Regions from separate parts of the Homo sapiens genome. Here regions 1, 3 and 4 are each linked to region 2. Evidence: promoter capture Hi-C in 16 types of primary human blood cells and fetal thymus (Javierre and others, 2016). All regions are on one chromosome and are shown on one strand. The core of a region is centred on a gene start or on the middle of the fragment in contact, and the rest is flanking DNA. Distances in the headings are between cores, read along the strand shown.

Region 1 (6,192 bases), core at 1,385-3,884, 83 kb before region 2:
GAGACAAGCAGAGGACAGAGAAGACAAATGCAAAATCTTTCTTTGGCTGGGACTTGTCAGAAAGGGAATCTCCAGTGTTGGTGATGGTGTCACCAACAGCCTCATGTGCCTTATGTGTGGGCATCTCTGAAGGCAGAAAGAACTCCATTTTCCCTGGAGGAAAATGGACCAGTGAGCATGAGGCTGAGGTCTGACTCCTGGGGGCCACACAGGCAGGCCTGAGCACCTTGCCCCTCCTCACTGAAGGGGGCTTAATGTCTGGGGCACAGTTGACTCCATCCCTCTCTTTTTTCCTGTATGTGGTTTTTTGTTTTTTTTTTTTTCAAGACAAGGTCTCATTCTGTCACACAGACTGGAGTGCAGTGGCACAATCTCAGCTCACTGCAAACTCTGCCTCCCAGGTTCAAGTGATTCTCCCATCTCAGCCTCCCGAGTAGCTGGGACTACAGGCACGCACGTACAGGCTGGTCTTGAACTCCTGACCTAAAGTGATCTGCCTGCCTCGTTTTTCCTGTATGTTCTAATGTTATTTCAGGGATCCCCTTTGCCTCACTCTGGCCATTCCAAAACATATATATGTTTCATTTATATAAATCCAAATGAAAATATTAAAATTGCAAGTGAGATATTTTTGGCCTTAATCTTTGAATTTCAATGTTTTCTTATCTGTAGAGCTGGTGTGCTAACTCCTGTAATTCTGGGCAATGCCCATGTGGTTCTTGGCTGCTTCAAGCCATCTCAGGTCTGATTTTCACACAAGCTCAGCAGCACTGGGCTAGAAGGGTACCGCCCTCCCACTCTGCTGCCACTTTGAATAGAAGTCCAAGCTTTCGCTTTCTTGCCCTGACTTTGATTCTTCACATTGCTGAGGAGCAGTGATTGAAGCTTAATCTCATTGTCTACAGTCCGTCTCCTCTATGGAGCTGCACTATTCTTTCCCATCTCAATTATTTCTGATGTAACCAAAACACTCTCTCTCCCCACTGCCTTTTTTCTTTTGTAAAGACTTGCAAAGGGTCAGTTCCAGAGGCTCGAGCCCTGTGTTCTGACTTTCACAGACAGAGGCCTGCCACTCTTACATTTACAGGTCATCATTCTGAGCAATACACTTTTTTTGAAGAGTAGTCCTAAAAGCTCACTAAAAAGTTGCATTTGTATTTAACTTAAATAGAGAACCTTATGTGTAGTCCATGTTTCTGGACTCTATACCTGATTTTGAATCACTGGACTTAAATTATTGGACTTACAACACTGATACATCTTGTAAATGAACCTAAGCAAAGAATACCAGCCCTACATCCCACTCCCCTCAAGATAACTGGGAAAGACACAAAGCCATGCTGAGGAGGAGCCATGGTTTGATATTGTCCAGTGAGTGTCTCTTGGCCTCAGAATGCTGCCACTTCCTGCAGTTCCAGCCCTTGGCTGTGGTCCATTCTGAGTAAGTGAATTCCTCTGTTAAAACTTGCACACAATAAGGAGATGGCGTCACCAACAGCCAGAGAAGTCAAGGGTCCTGATCCATCCAGAGACAAGGTGAAAAGGCAGGCTGGGGGGGAAAGGGGGACCAGCAGATTAGGCCAAGAGTGTAGCATCATGAAATGTGATGTCTTCATGAGAAATGCAAGGAAATAAAGCATTTGCTGTACATATCTAACCCGTATGAGAGAGACCCCACTTCTTCAGAGGAAAGCATACCAGGGAGGTCAGAACTTGGGCCAACTCCATGACTTCAATGGTAGAGAATGGCACACGGGCCAAACAGGATGCATACCATCACCAAGAAGTGTCGGGGTCTCACCGGCTAAAGACATGTTACAAAGGTGCCCTCAGTCACCTGCCCAGAGAATAAAGCAGGGCCCAGGCAGGGAAAAACACACAAGGATACTGATCTTTAGCTGCTGGCTTCCTGGGGTCTTGATGCCTTGGAGATGGAGGATAATGGGAGAGCCCGAAAGGCAGTCTTTGGGGGTTTCAGCTGACCCATCTCCCTCCATCTGCATCTTAGAGGCCACTCTTCTAAAAACTACAGGCGCATACCTGGTGGGCAGGGAATCTGTGCCACTTGGTCAGGTCAACATTTCCAGATCTCGTTCTCCCTGGTCAGATTTATGATCATTAAGTCTAAAACATCTGCTCTTTTTCCTCAAGCAACAGTTACACCTGAGTGGCTGGAGAAGCCACTCCAGGTAACAGTACAGCAGGCTGTCCTTACTATGGAAGTTTGGCTTGTGGCCACAGCTGTTTGCAGAATGCCCACAAGACATGGTCCTGCCTCTATTCTCTGAGGGAACTACCCTGTCTCCCTTGAGAGGAGCTGAGTTCTAGAAGACTGTTGTAGGACAGATTTGGTTTAAAGTTCTTTAAGGCAATGCTGTTTCTGTCTGTGGCAGAACCCTGTGTCCAGGACAGAATAGATGGAGGCAGTGGGGTGCTGGTAAACCAGCTTTCTGGAAGAGAAAACACCACCACCACCGATTCATAGCACTTGTTAATTTTCATCATGTAAATACCTCCATCATGATCAGATTTCAGGCTACCAAAGGTTTAAAAACCAGTTCACAAAAAATCCTGAATATTTAACAATCGGCCAGCAGGGGCTGGCTCCATCCAGCAGATCCAGGACTCTGGGGAGCTGGGTTGCATAAGACATCTTTTTTCTCTGATGCTTTGAAATGTTATGAGCTTACTGTGTTCTTAAACTTCAGCTACAGAATCAAAACAGGGCAGAGACTTTCTGAAAGTATCCTTACTCCCCCTTACCCTCACCAAGAGCTGGGGCTTTCATTTTAGTCCTTGAAAGAAGACTTGAAAAGTCACAATTCTTGTTCTCTTTTCCAAATATTTTGAGTGTCACAAGTTAGAATCTGATGAAGAACTTCAGGTAGAAAGAATGTAAGAGCCAAATCTACGTGAGTTCTCAGGAATGAGTCTATACAACATGGTACCAGGGGATACAGGGGATAGCATCTTGACATCACCTCTTAAGCATGAGACTGGACAGTGGCAGAAGATGGGTGGCTTTGTAATGCTGAGCAATGGGAAGAAGGAGTTTTAAAGAAGGTTTTAGGACTTCATGTATCTTTTGAGGAGAACTAACAGCAGGCTGCTTACCTCCAGTATCTTGGTTCCAAATCTTCACCTTGCAATCATGTGATGAGGTAGCAATTAAAGGCATCAAGGCCAATGCTCTTGGTAGAAAGACGCAGGATGCGACAGTCTGGAAATGCCCCTTATACTCACATATTCTGTTTCGAGTCTGTCTTAGGTCCCACAACTGCAAAGTAATGACATGGACCAGCTCATAGTCACTTGTCTAGCTTCATCCATGAATATCTATCTCCCCCTACCCCCATGATGCACCTATTCCCTCCACTTACCTGCTCACGTAGCTACCCCTTATCTTCATCCATCCACAGACCCAACAACCCATCCATCCACAGACCCAATGACCCATCCATCCAGTGATTATTTTAAGCCTCAACTATGTCTCAAACAACCCTGGTTAAGAATGTGTCATATGAGTTTTTGCCTTTTTAGTGGTTAGGGAAGTAAAAGCTCCCAGTCCTACAGCATGATGGTGTTCCATCATGGGGAACCCATGGGGAGCCCCAAACAACAGTATGGGGTTGTTTGCTTTCATGGCAACTCAAGAGCTGCCTTATTTCAACCTCTTGGCATCTGTGGGCCCTGTGGGGACCCCGTAGTTAGAAGTACCCCATAGATATAAGTACATCTAGGTGCAGACATTCTGATTTAATGCCTAGATGCTGAACCTTGATGTGTGAAGACTAGCGTCTACAAGAGGGAAGTGCCAGTCAGTGCTGCCAGTCCCACTCTCATTGATACAGATCAGATCACAGCTGGAGAATAATGTTCAGGGAGGAGAGCAAATTGAATTATGTCCAAAAAGATAATGAAGTTATTGGACAGCATGTTATCCAGGGAATAGCTGTAGGAGCTGGAAATGTTTCACTTAGAAAAGAGATGCTACATTCAAAGGCTGCAACACCCCAATCTACCATTTACTAGGGATGTGGTCTTGTGCAAGAGATGTCAACTTGCCATGCCTCTATTTCCTTGTCTGTGAAATGGGAATTATAATAGTACCTAACTCATGGGGTTGTTTTTAAGGATTAAATGAGATATTACATGTAATGTGCTCATCCCAGTGCCCAGCACACAAGAAATGTTCAATAAAATAGGAGGCATAATTGTTCTGTTTGAATACTAGATAACCCTTTTAATGGATATTCTACAATTATGAATCTAAGGTGCTTTGGAGGAGCCTAGGCAATCTATTCCAAAATTAAATGTAAGGAAGGTACATGAGTAAGGGATGGAGTAGGCCCTGGACCAACACTAGAGCTCCAAATTTCCTAAAAAGCTTGAGCTTCTTTTACTGTGGCCACGCCTATAATGGGAATAAATCTGGTTCTTCAAACAGTCCCTCCCCTCTCTAAGCTCTGCTGGGAGTAGAGACATCAGCAGGCTGGTTCTGTGTTTAGCTCCTCCCCATCTTGACTCTCATCCCATTCCTCTTTCCTACTACCAATTCAGAGAGCCCTAAGTTGATGAATGTTTCTTTTATTTTCTTTCTTTATTTTTTTGAGATGGGGTCTCCCTTGTTGCCCAGGCTGGCCTCAAACTCCTAGGCTCAGTTGATCCTCCCACCTCAGCCTCTGAATAGCTTGGACTACAGGCACATGCCACCATGCCCAGCTAACTTTTTATTTTTTTATAGAGACAGGGTCTTGCTCTGTTGCCCAAGCTAGTCTCAAACTCCTGGGCTCAATTAATCCTCCCGCCTTGGCCTCCCCTATGAATGTTTCTTAAATGAAGCAACTGGAATGCAAAGGATCACTCACAGTATGCTTTTGAAAGAGGCCTGAGCCATTAGCAAAGCCCGCCTGTGTAGCACAGCTACAGGCATGAGGCCAGAGTAAGTGATCTGTTCATCAGCAACCAGATACCTGGACCTCACACAGTCTCCTACCGTGGCTTCACAGCCTTCTCCTCCAAAGCCATTGCTGCAGGAGATACACTTGTGTCCATCCACACTGACTTCACAGTAGGTCTGAATGTGCTGCTTTGCAGGAAACATATGAGCTACCTGCAGCCCCCGACTGTCCCATAATCTGAAAGAGATTAGGGCAGGAAATTAGCTTGTAGTAAATGTGGCTGAAATACACCCGTATTGTCCCACTACCAAAAAAGTCTTGGCTCTTTGCTGCATAGGCCAGTCAGATTGGAATGGCATGATTTACCTAAAAACGGCAGCATGAACCAGATCAATCTCTGAGACTCTAAAGTTGGCAGGAAGTAACCAAATTGAATGACATCTGAGTTCTTTCTATTTTGAGATCAGTTAATAGAAATTGAGACCAAGCATCTTAATTGTACAAGTTAATTTGTTAATTTGGTCCTTTGAGACACTGCTTTCCGTGGACAAAAGGATATTTCTGTGCCTGTGACTTAAATTTTTAAAAAGATACTTATTATGATATGGGAAATCAGTCATCATTCAGAATTAGTTACAAAAGATTTACATACAGGTCATGGCCAGCCTTGGCTATGGGGTCCACTGGGGAGTGTTTTGTTTTGCTTCTTATTTCATTTTTACCTCTTTACCCCATTCCTACCATTTTCTAAGGAGAATCTCTTCTGAGATCCAAAGTTTCTAGTTATCCTCTCCGGTCTAAGAACTATTGGCTTTACTGACTCCCCTGATGCTGATTTCAACCCTGCTTCCCCAGGGAGGGCTTCAGCTGAAGGCTGGGTGACTGAGAACACCAGGAGCCATGCAGGGGTAGCAAGGAGAGCCAGGCAGCCCAACAGGGTGGGACAAGCAAGTGACTGATTCTGGGGTTAATCTGAACACCTTCACACAGCAGGAGCTGGCTGAATCAGATGCTTTGGAACCATCCAAAACAGGGGCTTTTACTTGGCCTGATCTCATGACACACAACCTCTACCTTAATGATCCATGGGGCCAAAGCAGAGAGGCCCCAGCACCAGTGAAGGGCAGAGGAACAGAAGGCTCTGGGAAGGGCAGAGCAATGTGGAGAATCAGAGTGGGAATGGAGCCATGTATGCATGGGAGCCACAAACCTCACAAGAAACACTTTCACAGCTGCTCAGTAAGCCCACCTGAGGGTTTTATCTTCAGAGGTCTGTAGTATGTATGGTTCT
Region 2 (5,635 bases), core at 2,743-5,242:
GAAACAGTGGGGCAGGGCTGCCTAGGAACTGGCTGCCCTTCTCCCCATAGTCTCTTAGGCCCCTTTAGCTGCCTTCAGCCATCTCAGGGGCCCATTTTATCCAGTCTTCCTCCTTGGTAGGGTGGGGTTATCACAAGTCACACAGGGGCCAGCCCTGCTGCCACACCCCTGGGTGGGCCAGCCCCATCACCTAACACAGGGGCAGGCCAGGCCTCCCCAGTCATGTCTCAACCTCCAAACAGACAATTATTCAGTAGATATGAGGTCCCAGCTGCCCATTTCGTACTCGATTTTGCTCTCATGTCTGCCAGGAGTTTTTTTTCCTTTTCTTTTTTTTTTTTTTTTTTTTTTGAGACAGAGTCTGGCTCTGTCACCCAAGCTGGAGTGCAGTGGTTCGATCTCGGCTCACTGCAACCTCCACCTCCTGGGTTCAAGTGATTCTCCTGCCTCAGCCTCCCAAATAGATGGGACTACAGGCATGCATGACCATGCTTGGCTAATTTTTGTATTTTTAGTAGAGACAGGGTTTCGCCATGTTGGCCAGGCTGGTCTCAAACTCCTGACTTCAAGTGATCCGCCCGCCTCTGCCTCCCAAAGTGCTGGGATTACAGGCGTGAGCCACCGCACCTGGCCGAGAGAATATTTTTGCATATTGAGAGAATTACCAAAATGTAAGCCAGTTGCCCAAGACCACATAGCTACTTAGTGACTGAGCCAGAATTTGAATTTGTTCTGGACTCCAAATGCTGGGTTTTATATACTGTATTTCATAATACTGATAAACACCTGATTCAGTAGGCGTCTCTCTGCCCATACTGTTTCTGCTTTGGGTGCTGGAGAGACAGAAGAAACAAAAGAAAAACATACTGAGTGTATTCGTTCTGTGCTGGGCACAGCACTGAAGTACTTGGTAGTAGTATCTCATTTCATTGCAAGAATTGTCCTAACTTTTAGTGATAAGGAAACAGAGGCTCTGAGCGGTTCAGTGACTTGCTTAATGCCATTCTAGAGTCTAGTCAGATGTTGAAGAGAGGTCTAATCTCTCTGACTCACTTCCCACAAACAATCTCTGTTGTTTTCTGGCTTCTGAATCCAAAGCTGCATTCCACTGGCCTCAACTCCCCATCGCTTTTAGGAGGCTGAGGGAACAACTGGCTCCTGCTTAGCAGAAACCCTGGGGCAGGACTGCCTAGGAGCCTGAGACCGGGGCAGGGTTAGAGTAAAGGGAACAGTCTCACTACAGCAGTCCACTTTGATCTGTTTTTGAATTTTAAGATTCAGAGACAGATTTGATTTGAGAAACGGCTGTCAGTGCTGAAAATATTAAAAGCTTGAAAATTGCCAATCCTGTTTAATCCCTTACACTTTAATGTGGAAAATGGGGTATAAAGAGGCAACGGGACTTTTGGAGATCACAGTGAGTGACATACAGAGCTATAAACTGACCCTGCAGCTCCTGGCTTCTATTTCAGTGCCCTGATACCTACACCATAGAGTCATTCCATTGTAAGAGGTACTTAATAAGTGGAGTTTCCCACTCCATTCTGTGAGTGGGAAAACACCCCCTGAATCACATATTGGCAGAGCCAAATGCAGGGTGGGTTTTGCTTTGCAAAAAGGCCCTTAGAGTTTGGGAGAATTTCACAGACTGGGAGGGCACTTCTCCCAAATCAAGCGAGCTTGCAAACCACAATTTAAATGCCTGTGACATTACCACACTGAAGACAGGAGCGAGCCGCCAGGAGGTCCAGCACCTCTGCCCAACCACATCAGACAGGTTAGCTTTGCTGGGACGCAGAGTATAGGGCGGTGCAGAAAGATCCATGTTTCAGGGTCAGACAGTCCCAGGTTTGGTCTATGCTCTGCTGTGTAATTTTGGGCAAAGTAATTGACCTTTCAGTGTTCATTTCATAATCTACAAAATAGGCATGATATCTCTAACTTGCAAGGCTGTGGAGATTATTGATAGGGATAAGGTAGGTGTCTGGCACCAAGTAGCTGCACAGTAAACATGTAGCTACTTTTATTACTATTAGGAGTGGGGCTGGGTTGGAACGAGATGTCCTGGCACAGCTCTGTGCCTTCTGCACCTCACCAGATGGGAATATGAGCTCAAACCCTTGTGGGCCACAGGGTTTTCCAAGATTTCTGAAGTGGAGTCCCTGCCTTCCAGCAGGTTATGTGGTGGAGGAAAAACAAAATAATCACCACCGGGCTGCCAGAGTAGAGGGGTGGACCAGGTGCTGTCAGAGGGACTGTGTCTCTGAGTCAAGGGTGGTTTCATGGAAGAGGGGACAGTGAAGGATAAGAAGTGTTTCAGATTTAATATGAAAGTATCTCCTCCCATGGAAGGCAACATCCCCAAACTGGGAGTAACTGAAGTTGGGCCCTGAGCACTGCTACCAGGAGGGGCTATGAGCTTCATGTGCCACCCCCCACCCCTGCAAGTTGTACTATGCTGAGGATTCCAGAGGCTGTGGGTCTTCGCACAGAGGCTTAGGACCTGCTGCCAGCCCTGGCAGGCTCTGCCACTGGCCAGGGAGGAGGCAGTCAGGAGAGCCAGCTAGATAGAAGGTGGCCAGAACTGAGAAATCCAAAGCCCCACAAAGGCCCAGGAGAGCAGCTGTCATGCAGTTCTGAAAAGAGATGAAGTGTTTATTCAGCCAACCCACATTTCTTGAATATCTACTATGGGCCTGCTGAAGTGCTAGACACAGGGATTAAAGAGAAGAATGAGACCCCAGCCTTGCCCTGGGGCTTTGAAGAGCCTGATCGCCTCTGGGGTTAGCCATTTAGACGTAGGAGAAGCTGCCATTCCCAGAATCCTAGAATATCTTGGCTAAGAGTCTTCTTAAAGTTTGCTGATTGTATCACTGAAACAAGGGTGAAACTGGGCTCAGAGAGGGGTAGACACAGGCCCAGGATCACGCAGTGGGTCAGCGGCAGATCTGGGGGAAGGTCTCCAGCAGCCCAGTCCTCAGTGCCCACCATGACACCTCCATACTTTAAGGATAGATATCAAATCTGTTTCCCAGCAGGTTGGGCTTGTGGAGAGCTTTGGGTGAGCCAGACTCTGGGCCTGGCTGCTGTTGGTAGCAGGATGGTTAAGTATGTGGGCTCTGGAGTCTGATAGATGTGGGTACAAATCCTAGTTCTGTAGCTTTCTAGTTGTGTGACCTCAGTTTCTTCGTTTAGTAAATGGGGACTAGAACCGACCTCAATGGGTTGTTGTAAGAAATGAATGGGTCAGGCCGGGCGTGGTGGCTCACGCCTGTAATCCCAGCACTTTGGGAGGCCGAGGTGGGCGAATCACCTGAGCTCGGGAGTTCGAGACTAGCCTGACCAACAGGGAGAAACCCCATCTCTACTAAAAATACAAAAATTAGCAGGCGTGGTGGCACACGCCTGTAATCCCAGCTAGTTGGCAGGCTGAGGCAGGAGAATCGCTTGAACCCGGGAGGCGGAGGTTGCAGTGAGCTGAGATCGCGCCATTGCACTCCAGCCTGGGCAACAAGAGCGAAACTCCGTCTCAAAAATAAATAAATAAATAAAATAAATGAATGGTCAATGCACGCAACGCTTAGTACAAAACGGCTGTTATTGTTTTCACCTCCCTACCCCCCCACCAACCACCACCCGCACCTCGGGTTCTGCATCGATGGAGTCTGCCCAGGCGGTATCCGAGAGGGTGAACCCCAGAGAAGAGGTGCGGAGCCCCGAACCCGGGCCCCCAACCTCGGCTGCAGCGGGATAATCCAGCCCAAACAAACGCTCCACGGGACTCCGTGCACGGCTGCACCGCCAGGGCTTCAGGCGCACAGCACAATCTGGGGACGCAGGACTCTTGGTGCCACAGTCCCCGCCTCGCCCTGGAGCCGCCCTCCAGGCCCGCTATCTCCCCGCATCCAGCCCCCGCTCACCTGCCTCCCTAAGGGCTCCCGGCCGCTGCTCCTGTCACCGCTGTCTCCCGCTCCGGTCTCCCACAGACCGCGTAAGAGCGGGGGGGGCTCACCCGGAAGCAGCTTCCCCACGGTCCGCCCCCTCCACAGTCCAGGCCACGCCCCCTGAAGGCGGTCTTCTGGGGGGCTCCTCCGCTCCAGCCGCGGCCCCGCCCACACGCAACGAGGCCTGGCCAATTGGGTGTGTCGAGGGCCTGGAGGGCCCGCCCGTCCCCGCTCCGGGCCCTGCGCTTGTGCAGCGAACTGCAGGAGGGAGGCCACGAGGGGGCGCAGGAACCGCTTGGGAGGGTCCCTGGGTGTGAGCCGGCCTCGGAGGCGGTTACAGCCCAGGTTTCACTTCACAGCATTCCTTTGCCCAGCCTAGGGCAAACTTGGCTCTGGTTAATGGCTTGGTGAAAGAATAATTGGATGTCAAAGCCGTTAAAACAGCACCATTATGCCTAACACAGTATTAGCTAAGTCCATTTTTGCGGACTAAGCTAAAGTTGTTGAGTTCAGCGCCAGGCTTCCAAGTTTTCAGAGAAAATTTGTACCAGCTTCATTTATTTCTCAGGGTACGGCAATGCTATGAGTTGAGAGATGTGATGTGAAAGACATGGGCGTTTAGGAAAACTCCAAGTCTTGATAGGGGCATCAGACCTATGATAGGTACAATGATAGATCCGATCAAAGGTCTTTATGGAGATTGGAGATGTGCAGAGGCAAGAGGGATCTGGTGAGGCTTATGGGGCCTGGGTAAACCAGTAGGATTGGATGAGTAAAATGGCGATCGGGCATCATCGCCCTAGCGAAGCAATGCCTTTCAGGTGGTTCTTCAGGGATTATTGAAAAGTTGACTTTCAAATGTAGAGGACACTAGTGGGTTACATTACACTTATTCTCAGATTTTATTTCTCAGCCCGGTTCGGTGGCTCACGCCTGTAATCCCAGCACTTTGGGAGGCCAAGGCGGGCGGATCTCTTGAGGTCAGGAGTTCAAGACCAGCCTGACCAACATGGTGAAACCCTGTCTCTACTAAAAATACAAAAAATTAGCCGGGCGTGGTGGCGGGCTCCTGTAATCCCAGCTACTCGGGAGGCTGAGGCAGGAGAATCGCTTGAACCCGGGAGGCGGAGGTTGTAATGGGCTGAGATCATGCCACTGCATTCCAGCCTGGGTGACAGAGGGAGACTCTGTCTCAAAAAAAAATTTTTTTTTAAATTTCTCAAAATCTGTACCCCAAACCTGTTGTATACTTTATATTTTAAATTTAAGGGGCCTAGCGGCGTAAGGCTAGGGAAATATGACACTGCTTAGTTTCCAGCTACTGGAGTTCTGATCTGTATTCAACAAGGAAGGGGATAGAAAGCAAATAATGTTTGCTGTGCATTAAAGAGTCAGGGACAGTACCATGCATTTTACATTCATTTATCTAATCTTGACAGCAACGATGTTACTATTCTCACTTTACGGATTGGGAAAACAATTGCCAGCTAGATTAAATAATTTGCCCCATGTTACACTGGGCTCTCTCTGCAATGCCTGCTAATAACCACACTCCATAGGGGCAATTATTATTTGTTTTTTCCTAGATTCCCTGCCCGACATTTCTTTCCTGACACTCATTCCTTCCCTGAGGTTATTGGTAACTAAAAATAATTAGAACCATCTAAGAACCCAAATAGAACGGGAAATTT
Region 3 (6,024 bases), core at 927-3,426, 110 kb before region 2:
GGCTGGAGTGCAGTGGCGCGATCTCGGCTCACTGCAACCGCCGTCTCCCGGGTTCAAGCAATTCTCCTGCCTCGACCTCCCGAGTAGCTGGGACTACAGGCGCGTGCCACCATGCCCAGCTAATTTTTTTATTTTTAGTAGAGACAGGGTTTCACCATGTTGGCCAGGCTGGTCTTAAACTCCTGACCTCAGGTGATCTTCCCGCCTCAGCCTCCCAAAGTGCTGGGATTATAGATAACAGGTAACGCGCCCAGCCATATTTGCCTTTAAATTACAATTAATCTGAAATTTCAGAGTTACAAATTACCAGAAAACAAGGATTTTCACTCTTGTCCAATGCTACAGGTATATAAGTCTCCCTTCCTGGTTCTGTAAGTTCAGGGAGGCTAGAATCTGTTAGAGAACTTTTCCATTAAGTTATAATTTACATACAATGGAATGGATTTATTTTAAGTGTACAATGCTGTCAGTCTTTACAAACGCGTACCATTCCTGTGATCGACACCTCTGTCAATATAGAGAATAGTCCATCACCCCAGAAAGGTCCCTCATGCCCTTTTCCAGCCAACTCCCCCTTCTAAAGCAACTGCTGATCTGACTTCTATCACCACAAATTAATTATGTCTATTCATACTGTGAATTCATTTGTGGCAGGCTTCTTTCAGCATAACATTGTTAAGAGTCATTCATGTTGTTGCATGTATCAGTAATTCCTTTTTATTGCTGGGGGTTATTCATTTTTATGACTGTGCCATAGTTTATCCATTCTCCTGTTGATGGACACTTGGGCTGTTTCCAGGTCTGGGCCAGTCAGAATGAAGCTGCTATAAATATTCTTGTACCAGGCTTTTTGTGGACATGAGTACAATTGCTGGGTCATAGGGTAGAGGTATGAGATGTATATTTAACTTTTTCTAAACTCCCCACCAGTTTTCCAAAGCGGTTACACCATTTTACATTCCCGGAGTTCTGGTTACTTCACATCCCTGTTAACATTTGGTGTTGTCAGTCTTACCATTTTGCCCAATCTAGCAGGTGTGTAGTGATCTCCCGTGATTTTCATTCTTATTACCCTGATCATTATTGCTCTTGAGTGCTCTGTCATATGCTTTGCCTGGTTTTTTAAATTGTGTTTGTCTCTTTTGTCTTTATTTCCATGTGCATAGTCAGTTATACCACCTTGTATTGAAGAGACTTTCCTTTCTCTGTTGGAATTGTTTCAGTACCCTTGTTGAAAATCATCTGACCATATATGTGTGGTTATTTCTGTACTTCCTATTCTCTTCCATTGATCTATTTGTGTATGAGTGATTTTTGTATCCCCAACATCCAATTTAGGGCCTAGTAAATGTATAAATGCTTGATGAATGAAAGAATATAACAGTGGAGGAAGAAAGAAGGTAACAGAGTCTTTGCTGGGCCATTCTTGGGGAATCCTGTTATTACAATAGCCACTAGGTTGGGCATGGTGGCTCACACCTATAATCCCAGCACTTTGGAAGACCACGGTGGGTGGATCACCTGAGCTCAGGAGTTCGAGACCAGCCTGGCCAACATAGTGAAGCCCCATCTCTATGAAAAATACAAAAATTAGCTGGGCATGGTGGCGCACACCTGTAGTCCCAGCTACTCAGAAGGCTGAGGCAGGAGAATGGCTTGAACCCGGGAGGTGGAGGTTGCAGTGAGCCAAGATTGCGCCACTGTGCTCCAGGCTGGGCAACAGAGTGAGACTCTGTCTCAAAAGAAGAAAAAAAAAAAAGCCCTAGAGGTTTACAGCGATTCCATGGTTTTCAGCTAGCACCTAAGGCAGATAAGCTTAGTTGTTGAGTCATTGTTTATGTCAGAAAGGAGCTTCCTGTTAATATGGTTATATGAATAGTTTCAGAAGCATTAATAACTTAAGCTATAATGGCTTAGAATACTTTATGTGTTGTAGAAACTGAATAAATATCAGCTGGTTGATTGTTAGTGTGATTTGGTTTTAGCTATGACCGTTCATGGCGCTTATGGGATTTGGAGGCTCAAGAGGAGATCCTGCATCAGGAAGGCCATAGCATGGGTGTGTATGACATTGCCTTCCATCAAGATGGCTCTTTGGCTGGCACTGGGTAAGGCTTCTCCCATGTAGTCAGGGGCAGTTCAGTACTCTCACCTCTTACCTATACCTGCTTCCACAGAGAACTGGATTCAAAGTGTTCATTTCTAAATTATTTTCTCAGGGGACTGGATGCATTTGGTCGAGTTTGGGACCTACGCACAGGACGTTGTATCATGTTCTTAGAAGGCCACCTGAAAGAAATCTATGGAATAAATTTCTCCCCCAATGGGTAAAATAAACACACTGAATGAGGGGCGAAAAAGGGTTCTGGGTCAGTAAGTACTCTATTTCTAACTTCAATACTGCATCCAATCCACAGCTATCACATTGCAACCGGCAGTGGTGACAACACCTGCAAAGTGTGGGACCTCCGACAGCGGCGTTGCGTCTACACCATCCCTGCTCATCAGAACTTAGTGACTGGTGTCAAGTTTGAGCGTAAGCTTTCCTCCTATTTTACGTCTAAATGACACAGACAAACAGTATTGTGTTCCCGTGGAATGCAGGCCAGGCTTTAGCTTAACTGAGCAGTAAAACAGGAGAGAAATTGACCTACTGGTAAAGGAGCAAATTATAATTTCCTTCCCTCTGCCATACCCTTAGATCTGTGGGAAAGCACGCTTCTCGTTGCAGGAAGTAAAGCAGACTTTCATGAGTGCTTTGCTTCATTCTTTCCTCCATGGATGCTCTGAGCACTGAGTCCTTAATATTATTCTGAATAGATTCTCGGTCAGGGAATGAGCCAAAAGACCTTACTGTTATTTGTTCCCTTAAGTCTGTAGAAACAAGTTTTTTTAAAAATAGTATGTTTTTGCAGACTTTTGTGCTTTTGTCTTCTCTTTTGAATACTTGAATTCCTCAAGCAATTCCCCTTCTCTTCTCCTGTAGCTATCCATGGGAACTTCTTGCTTACTGGTGCCTATGATAACACAGCCAAGATCTGGACGCACCCAGGCTGGTCCCCGCTGAAGACTCTGGCTGGCCACGAAGGCAAAGTGATGGGCCTAGATATTTCTTCCGATGGGCAGCTCATAGCCACTTGCTCATATGACAGGACCTTCAAGCTGTGGATGGCTGAATAGATGACAATGGGAAAAGGACTTGAACCTCAAGCTCTCTCTAAGGAGCTGTTTTCCTCAAACGAGAAGAATTGAAGTGTTTAGTTCTATCATGTTTTCTGCCAATTACCATGCATAGACCCTCAGTAGAATTGGATTTCCATGTCAGCCCCCACTCCAGGAAGGCAGCCCAATCCCTAGGTGATGGGGAACCCCTCTCACGGTTGAAAATTTATTACCTTTTTACGCCCTGCCACGAACTGTGTAGACATTGTTTTTATTAATCTTTTGTTTGGCCGGGCGTGGTGGCTCACGCCTGTAATCCTAGCACTTTGGGAGGCCGAGGTGGGTAGATCGCTTGAGCTCAGGAGTTCAAGACGAGCCTGGGCAACATGGCAAATGCCGTCTCTGCAAAAAAATACTAAAATTAGCTGGTCGCGGTGGCTTCTGCCTGTGATTCCGGCTACTTGGGAGGCTGAGGTGGGAGGGATTGCTTAAGCCTGGGAGGCAGAGGTTGCAGTGAGCCGAGATTGCGCCATTGCACTCTAGCCTGTGTGACAGAGCAAGACCCTGTCTCAAAAAAAAAAAAAATTTGTTCGAATGCCTTATAGCCTTCCTCACAGCACCCAGGATTGTGACTGACTCTGCATTTTTAATTCTTGAAACTTGGCTTTCCATAACATGGTACATGCTTCAGGACTACATATGACCCAGAGAGCAAGGTGGCTGAACTATAGTCTGGAAGCCCTCAGGTAAAGAGGCACATCTCACCACTCATTGGTTAAACAATGCATCATAGCGAGCACTTTTCCTTTCCCTGGAGAATGGGATGTGAAGCAGTAGACCGCAGCCACGCCGATGGTTATACAGTGAAGAAGACTTCACCTCTTCCTATTGAGTTTGCTTGGAATGCTGACAGCATCAGGCAACTCTGAACTGAACATTTGCTTTGTCAGAAAATATCTTTTTTTTTACTTTGAAGTTTGGCAACCTTCATGTTACCCCAAAGCAAAACCATTGTGTCAGGAGTCAAACAAATGTTTAGAAAGCAAACATGACGTCTCTATTGTACAACCTCCTTTCTCTTGGCTGTTTAAAGGATGTACTTCGTGTATTAAAGGGTACTTTATGTTGAAGTAACGAAAAAACCCTAATGGGTGTTCCTAAACCTAAACCTTTTCTTTATTCCACATTTGCTACGGTAAAATCCTGTTACAAAACTACCCTATAAAGAATTATTTTCTATAGTTAAGCATTTTCTGAATCCTAGCCATTGGTCCATAGAGGTCTCTTTTTTTTGGTTTGGGATATAATGGATGATCTCAAATATGGATTACTCTGATTTATGTCTCCTTAGCACCTTGTTAACAATTTTTTTTAAAATAGAAGGCTGTTTGCATTTTGGGCCAGACTGCCAGTAAGCCAGGCCTGGACTCAATTACAATTCTTAACTTGTCTGTCATGCACCTCTTTTCACCTCAACTATACAGCCTCTGAACTCTCAAATTACACAGTAAATTCAAAAAAATATATAGGAATTTGGAAGAAGAAAAGGTTGTCTACAGAGGAGAGTTATTAAAGAAAGGCTTCTTGGCCGGGCACGGTGGCTCACGTATGTAATCGCTTGAACCTGGGAGGCGGAGGTTGCAGTGAGCCAAGATCACACCGTTGTACTACAGCCTGGGCAACAGAGCAAGACTCCATCTCAAAAAAACTTAATTTGCTGTTGCAGAGAGGTTGACAATGGCTTTGGTCAGCTCTATTCTGTGGACCCTGAATGTGTGATATATAGCCAAACAACTGGTTTGTTTTGTTTCATTTTGAGACAGGGTCTCGCTTTGTCGCCGAGATTGGAGTGCAGTAGTGCGAACACAGCTCACCACAGCCTTGACTTCCTGTGCTCAAATGATTCTCCTGCCTCATCCCCTCATCCTGTGTAACTGGGATCACAGGAGGATGCCACCATGCCTAGCTAATTTTTTTGATTTTTTGGTAGAGACACGATTTCACTTTGTTGCCCAGGCCGGTCTCAAATTTCTGGGCTCATGCAATCCTGCCTTGGCCTCCCAAAATGCTGGGATTACAGGCATGAGTCACTGTGCCTGACCTAAACATACTGTTTTTAATCTGATTTCAATTATAACCAAATAGTTGCATTTCCTATGTAGTTGTTCAGCTTCTGAATTCTCAGGACTACCCTCTGTTGCTCACTTCACTATTGTTCAGGTATTAATGAATTCTATTTCATAGATTATGATGAAAAGAACTTTTTTTCTTCTTTGTAGTATGTGTAAAATAATGAAGAACACTGGTGAATTAGCATGCAATTGGATATAATGTGCTAACAAAGATTTTTAGTTTCTCAGGTTTAAATTTTGCTATTAGTTCCCTTCGACTTGTTTTTCTTTGTTTTTTGGTTGGTCCAAGAGGTAGCAGTTGGGTGAAAACATTTCATCCAAGCCTTTGACAGAACAAATACCTTGTGGGCTATTTCTTCACAGGAATTAAAACATCATTGTAAGAAAGTGGTTAAGAAGCACAAAGCCAGGTGTGGCATTTGTGAAAATGGCAAGATAAACAGCCACCGTTTCACAGAACACTTAGTCCCTACCTAGATGGTATACCAGGCACATTCAGATACCTTGTTTAATCCCCACAATCTTTTGAGTTTATTATTCCCTTTTTATGGACAAAACAGGCTCCAAAAACACTTGCTCAAGTTTAGCCAGCTAGCAAGTGATGGAGCTTGAATTTGAACTGTCATCTGACCATTGATGACCTTATGAAGGTTTCACAGGTTCCCCACACTGGCCAGACAAAAGGACCGGTACAGCCAGCATGGCCTGTTTCCTGTACGAAGTCTGAGCT
Region 4 (5,596 bases), core at 2,265-4,764, 66 kb before region 2:
ACTTACAGCCCTGAGGTTGCAGACACACAAAAACAAAACTGATTTTAAAAAAGACTAAGAAGTCCTGTAATAAGTAAAACACAGAATTGCCATACGGTCCAGCCATTCTAATCCTGGGTTTAAGGCCAAAAACACAGAAACAGATGTTCAAACAAAAATTTGTGCACAAATGTTCACAGCAGCACTGTTCACAGCAGCCAAAAAGTGAAAACAACTCAAATATTCATCAACAGATGAGTGGAGAAACATCATGTGGTCAATCCACACAATGAAATATTACTCGGCCATTAAAAGGAATGAAGTACTCGTACATACTACAACATGGGTGAATCTTGAGAACATCATGCTAAGCAAAAGAAGCCAGACATGAAAGGCTACACAGTTCATATTCTATGTATGCGAAATATCCATAGTTGGCAAATCTATAGAGACAAAAAGCAGATTAGTGGTTGGCAAGAGCTGGAATAAGGAAGAGACTGGGGAGTGACTACTTAATAGATACAGATAGAATGTAATACAGAGTATCTTAATAGGCTAGATATAGTTTGGATATGTGTCCCCTCCAAATCTCATGTTGAAATTTGATCCCCAATGTTGGAGGTAGGGCTTAGTTGGAGGTGTTTCGGTCATGTGACCAGATCCCTCATGAATACTTGGTGACATCTCCCTGGTAATTAGTGAGTTCTCACTCTATTAGTTCCCACAAGAACGAATTGTTTTAAAAAAGCCTGGCACCTCCCTCCTCACCTGGTTCCTTCCTCTCTTGCCAAGGGATGCCTGCTCTCCTTTGCCTACTGCCACGGTGGAAGCTTCCTGAGCCCTCACCAGAAACAGAAGCCTGCGTCACACTTTTCATACAGCCTGCAGAACCATGAGCCAAATAAACTGCTTTTCTTTATAAACTACTTAGCCTCAGTTATTTTTTTATAGCAACACAAACAAACAAAGAGGCAGAGTTTCCTTTTGGAGTGATGAAAATGTTCTAGAACTAGATAGTGATGATGGTTGCACAACAATGTCTCTATATACTAAATGTCACTAATCATAAATTTTATGTTATGTGCACTCTGCCACAATAAAATAAATACTAAGAAGATGTAATCAAAAATAAAAAATAATTTACACTACTGAAGCTTCTTGAAAAAGAAAAGCCTCAGTTATTCTAAAAGGTTATAACCTTCCTTGGTTGTTGGATTTTTTTTTTTTTTTTTTTTTTGAGACGGAGTCTCGCTCTGTCGCCCAGGCCGGACTGCGGACTGCAGTGGCGCAATCTCGGCTCACTGCAAGCTCCGCCTCCCAGGTTCACGCCATTCTCCTGCCTCAGCCTCCCCAGTAGCTGGGACTACAGGCGCCCGCCACCGCGCCCGGCTAATTTTTTGTATTTTTAGTAGAGACGGGGTTTCACCTTGTTAGCCAGGATGGTCTCGATCTCCTGACCTCATGATCCACCCGCCTCGGCCTCCCAAAGTGCTGGGATTACAGGCGTGAGCCACCGCGCCCGGCCGGATTTTTTTTTTTTTAATAATTTCACTATGGCACCTCTCAGTGTGCCAGAATCATGAAATAGATGTTCTGAGATGCTAGAAATAATGCCACTAAATGAGACAATGTAGGTAATGACCTAGACTAGCAGTTCTTAAAGTGTGATCCATGGAACATGGGGGATTCCTGAGAGCCTTTCAGGGAGTTTGGGAGGACTTCTGTTTTCCAACCACATCTCTCAGTGAGGCCCTTCGCTCCCTCCCTCCCTTCCTTCCTCTCCTTTTCTCTCCTCCTTCTTCCTTCTTCCTTCTCCTCCTTCTCCTTCTTCTTTCTTTCTTTTTCCTTCTCCTTCTCCTTTCTTTTTTTTTGAGACAGGGTCTCACTCTATCACCCAGGCTGGAGTGCAGTGGTGTGATCTCACTGTACCCTCAACCTCCTAGGCTTAGGTGATCCTCCCACTTCAGCCTCCCAGGGAGCTGGGACTACAGGCTTGCACCATCATGCCCAGCTAATTTTTCTGTGTTTTTTGTAGAGACGGGGTTTCGCCAACTCCTGGGCTCAAGCAATCCACGTGCCTTGGCCTCCCAAAGTGGGGCCTTCTTTTCTTTTAATACCTCAACATAAACAATAGATTATAATAGACTGAATGCAGAAGCAGATATCAGAGTCCAATTGTCTCCTTTTTAAGGCAAACATTAGAAATTTGCAAAAACATAAAGCAATACCACTTCTTCCAATTAAATATTTTGGTTTTGGAAAGTATATTTATTTTTCATAAAATGATGTTTTATGTTAATATGCAATAGGTTTATTGCTATTTCAAAATTAATAAGTAAATGTCTTTAAAATTTGTTTTTTAAAATTAATTAATTAATTTACTTATTTATTTTATTTTTTTGAGACGGAGTTTCACTCTTGTCACCCAGGCTGGAGTGCAATGGCGTGATCTCAGCCCACTGCAACCTCCGTCTCCTGGGTTCAAGCGATTCTCCTGTCTCAGCCTCCAGAGTAGCTGGGACTACAGGCATGCGCCACTACATCAGGCTTTTTTTTTTTTTTTTTTTTTTTTTGTATTTTTAGTAGAGACAGGGTTTCACCATTTTTTGGCAAGGCTAGTCTCAAACCCCTGACCTCAGGTGATCCACCCACCTTGACTTCCCAAAGTGCTAGGATTACAGGCATGAGCCACCGCACCTGGCCTCATTTATTTATTTTTAAATTTAACAAACCCTGCATGTGGCATTCAATCTCAGTTTTAATGTCAAATGATGGTAGCAGAGCAGGATTCGAACTCAATCTATAACCTACATAAACAAAACCTCTTTGGGGGTTCTTAATTTTGAGGAGTGAAAAGAAGTTCTGAGACCAAAAAGTTTGAGAGCCAGTGACTTAGAATTTAAATAATGTTAATATTGGATTATATATTAGAATTAAAAGAATAATGAAACATTTTCCAGATTTACTTGTATCATCCCCCTCAACTAACGAGGCTAGAACTGAAAAGAAAGAGAATGAATTATGCATTCAAAGGTGCTCCTCCACTCATTCAGGGAACACCTCCTAAGCACCTTATTTGTGTAGGTCCTATACCAGTTGCTGGTGAAACTGAAAAAAAGAGAAACCTGAAGATGTGACCAGCATGAACATTTGCTGGGACCGAAGGAACCTAACGAAGGACCAGTCTCAACTACTCCATGTCATGTGTCCCCTGCGACTGGCTGTGATATCAGATAGCTGAGGGAAGTATGGGGGGCAGTGGGAGCACCCAGTCCCCATTTCTTCTGAGGTTCTGCCTAAAAGTTCTAGGAAATAAGTTTCTTATGGGCATGACCAACCTAATTCTAGGAAGAACTGTCTACAGGAAGAACTGTTTACAGAAGAGAACAGCAGCTAAAACGCACCAACTTAATATTCTCATTCATACCATTAGCATTAAAAAAATGGAGTTTTCCAGAAGAATTTCAGCCTACATTTTGAGAAGTTGCTAGAATTGACTTCCTGACGAGAATAGGTAACCAATACAGAAAAGCACAATGCAATGGAAACAATGTGAGTGGCATCAAGAGGCCTAGGATCTACCCCAGCCCTGCCTCATCCCATTATGTGTCCTTGAGTAGCTCCATTCCCCACTCTGGCCTCAGCCTCCCCAGCTAGAAAATTAGGACACTATACGAAATGATTTTTAGTAGACTATGTGTATAATGAGAGAAGGTCTCTCGTTATTCATCTTTGTACCCCAAGTGGCTTGCACAGTACTGTACAACAAAAATACTTGTGAAGTGGCAAATCTAAGGTCCCTTCCACTTCAGATATTCCAGGATTTTCTATAAGAGGCCACAAGATGTGCTGAGAGGCAAAATTCAGGATAGTTTTCAAAAAGTTTGGGATGTGGTATTGTTTACAGATAGAGGGTGCAGGGCTTCTTATCTGCCAGCCTAACCTATTTTTCAACATTGTCATCAAACCAATGACAGATGCCATTCATAGATCTAGGTCACTGGAAATTGCAGATGCTATAAATGGATTAGCTCTGCTCAAAACTGATTGGTATAGTCAGAGAGCCATACTTCCCAAGTAAACCATATTCATGGGACATTCTAAGGAAAAGATAACTTTTAGAATTACTTACCCCCAAACCAATAGGATCTTCTTGGTTAGCTGCCCTATTCAATAATTTGTAATGTGTATCCTTTGGAAAATAGTTCAGGCAGCCACTTCTTAATCTCTGTAATTAGTGGGAAGCCACTGAAGTTAATCTCTTCTCTGTCTAAGCATGTTTGCACTGAAAAGAGATTTACAAGGTAAATAAAGACCTTGTTTATTAAAGAGATGGTTAGGTGTAGTTTTCCCTCACAAAGAAAGAAATATTTTACAAAATTCCAAGATTATCTCTCTCACATTTCCACAATTCAGGAAAGTATACTATAGTGTTAATTATATATCTATTTTTAAATATGCAAAATATATTTAAATACATTGTTAAACATTTTGATTTTGCTCATAACATAGTACTTCTATTCATCAAAAATCTTGAGTTGACTGCTTATTTCAGAGTTTACTGCTTTTGTGAAAAAGGCAATTTCTCCTGTTTTAAATAATTCTCCTAGAATTTGAGATGGGAGAGCTTTTCAAAATCACCATATATAAACCATTTATTTATTTCAAGATCTGCAGAGTAAGGGTAGAAATATTATTTGCTCAAAATTATAACTAAGACCATTTATTGAAAGATCTGCAGAATAAGGATAGAAATATTATTTGCTCAAAATTATAACTAAGTAAATCTCTTGACTTCTAGTCCAGAATTTCCATTATAAATGTCTACAAAGAATAAACAGCTTTATTGCATTTTAATAACTCAATTTTAAGAATTCAATTAAATTCTAAATATTGATTGACAGTGCAGCTTATTCTGAGAATTAAGGGCAGCACAGAATAGTCAGAACAACATTTCATTAAATGCATTAGTGTCTGCATTAGATAGGACTAGTTGTGAATTATAGCTCAACTGTGGCCTTGGGCAAGTTGCTGAACCTCTCTAAGTCTCACTTTCCTATGTGTAAAATAGGATAATAACTCTATCATTGACTTCTGTGAAGATTAAAAATAGCACTTAAAAGGTACCAGGAACTGCTCTATGTTTTATATTTATTAACTCATTTTATCTATTCCACAAGCCTCTGAGATACTGTTACTACAGGTTGAGCATCTAATCCAAAAATCCAAAATCCAAAATGATCCAAAATCTAAAACTTTTTGAGCACTGACATGACATTCGAAGGAAATATTCATTGGAGCATTTTGGATTTTTTTTTTTTTTTTTTTTAGACAGAATCTTACTATATTGCCCAGACTGGAGTGCAGTGGTGCAACCTGGGCTCACTGCAACCTCCACCTCCCAGGTTCAAGCAATTCTCCTGCCTCAGCCTCCTGAGTAGCTGCGATTACAGGTGTGTGCCTCCATGCCCAGCTAAGTTTTGTATTTTTAGTAGAGATGGGGTTTCACCATGTTGGCCAGGCTGGTCTCAAACTCCTGACTTCAAGTGATCTGTCCACCTAGGCTTCCCAAAGTGCTGGGATTACAGGCATGAGCCACCGTGCCCAGCCACATCGG

Evidence for each region. The method cuts DNA at HindIII sites, captures the fragments that hold promoters and counts their contacts. A CHiCAGO score of 5 or more calls a contact.
Region 1: a contact is called between a fragment that was not itself captured here and the fragment with the promoter of ALAD in region 2, in 4 of 17 cell types (megakaryocytes, erythroblasts, endothelial precursors and 1 more). The highest score is 7.9, in megakaryocytes.
Region 3: a fragment that was not itself captured here is called in contact with the fragment with the promoter of ALAD in region 2 in 12 of 17 cell types (erythroblasts, megakaryocytes, M2 macrophages and 9 more); the score reaches 15.4 in erythroblasts.
Region 4: a fragment that was not itself captured here is called in contact with the fragment with the promoter of ALAD in region 2 in 1 of 17 cell types (erythroblasts); the score reaches 5.8 in erythroblasts.

Annotation. Positions count from the first base shown.
Region 1 is chr9:113,315,361-113,321,552 of GRCh38, forward strand. WDR31 (WD repeat domain 31) reads right to left here. Exons shown (of 11, transcript NM_001012361.4): 8 at 6,151-6,192; 9 at 4,997-5,138; 10 at 3,115-3,277; 11 at 1-1,549. The coding sequence ends at 1,389. Among named protein-coding and RNA genes, the nearest start is that of RNF183, 15 kb to the left of the region's middle. The HindIII fragment of the contact is 3,502 bases long and covers 884-4,385 here.
Region 2 is chr9:113,397,292-113,402,926 of GRCh38, forward strand. It overlaps ALAD (aminolevulinate dehydratase), which reads right to left and starts at 3,993. Exons shown (of 12, transcript NM_000031.6): 1 at 3,921-3,993. RefSeq lists an enhancer at 3,149-3,729 and silencers at 3,745-3,794, 3,945-4,304. The HindIII fragment of the contact is 5,410 bases long and covers 1,329-5,635 here.
Region 3 is chr9:113,288,481-113,294,504 of GRCh38, forward strand. PRPF4 (pre-mRNA splicing tri-snRNP complex factor PRPF4) reads left to right here. Exons shown (of 14, transcript NM_001244926.2): 11 at 1,986-2,108; 12 at 2,220-2,327; 13 at 2,418-2,536; 14 at 2,987-4,425. The coding sequence ends at 3,180. Among named protein-coding and RNA genes, the nearest start is that of RNF183, 12 kb to the right of the region's middle. The HindIII fragment of the contact is 726 bases long and covers 1,814-2,539 here.
Region 4 is chr9:113,332,177-113,337,772 of GRCh38, forward strand. It overlaps WDR31 (WD repeat domain 31), which reads right to left. Exons shown (of 11, transcript NM_001012361.4): 2 at 4,112-4,264. Among named protein-coding and RNA genes, the nearest start is that of WDR31, 5.3 kb to the right of the region's middle. The HindIII fragment of the contact is 4,766 bases long and covers 1,132-5,596 here.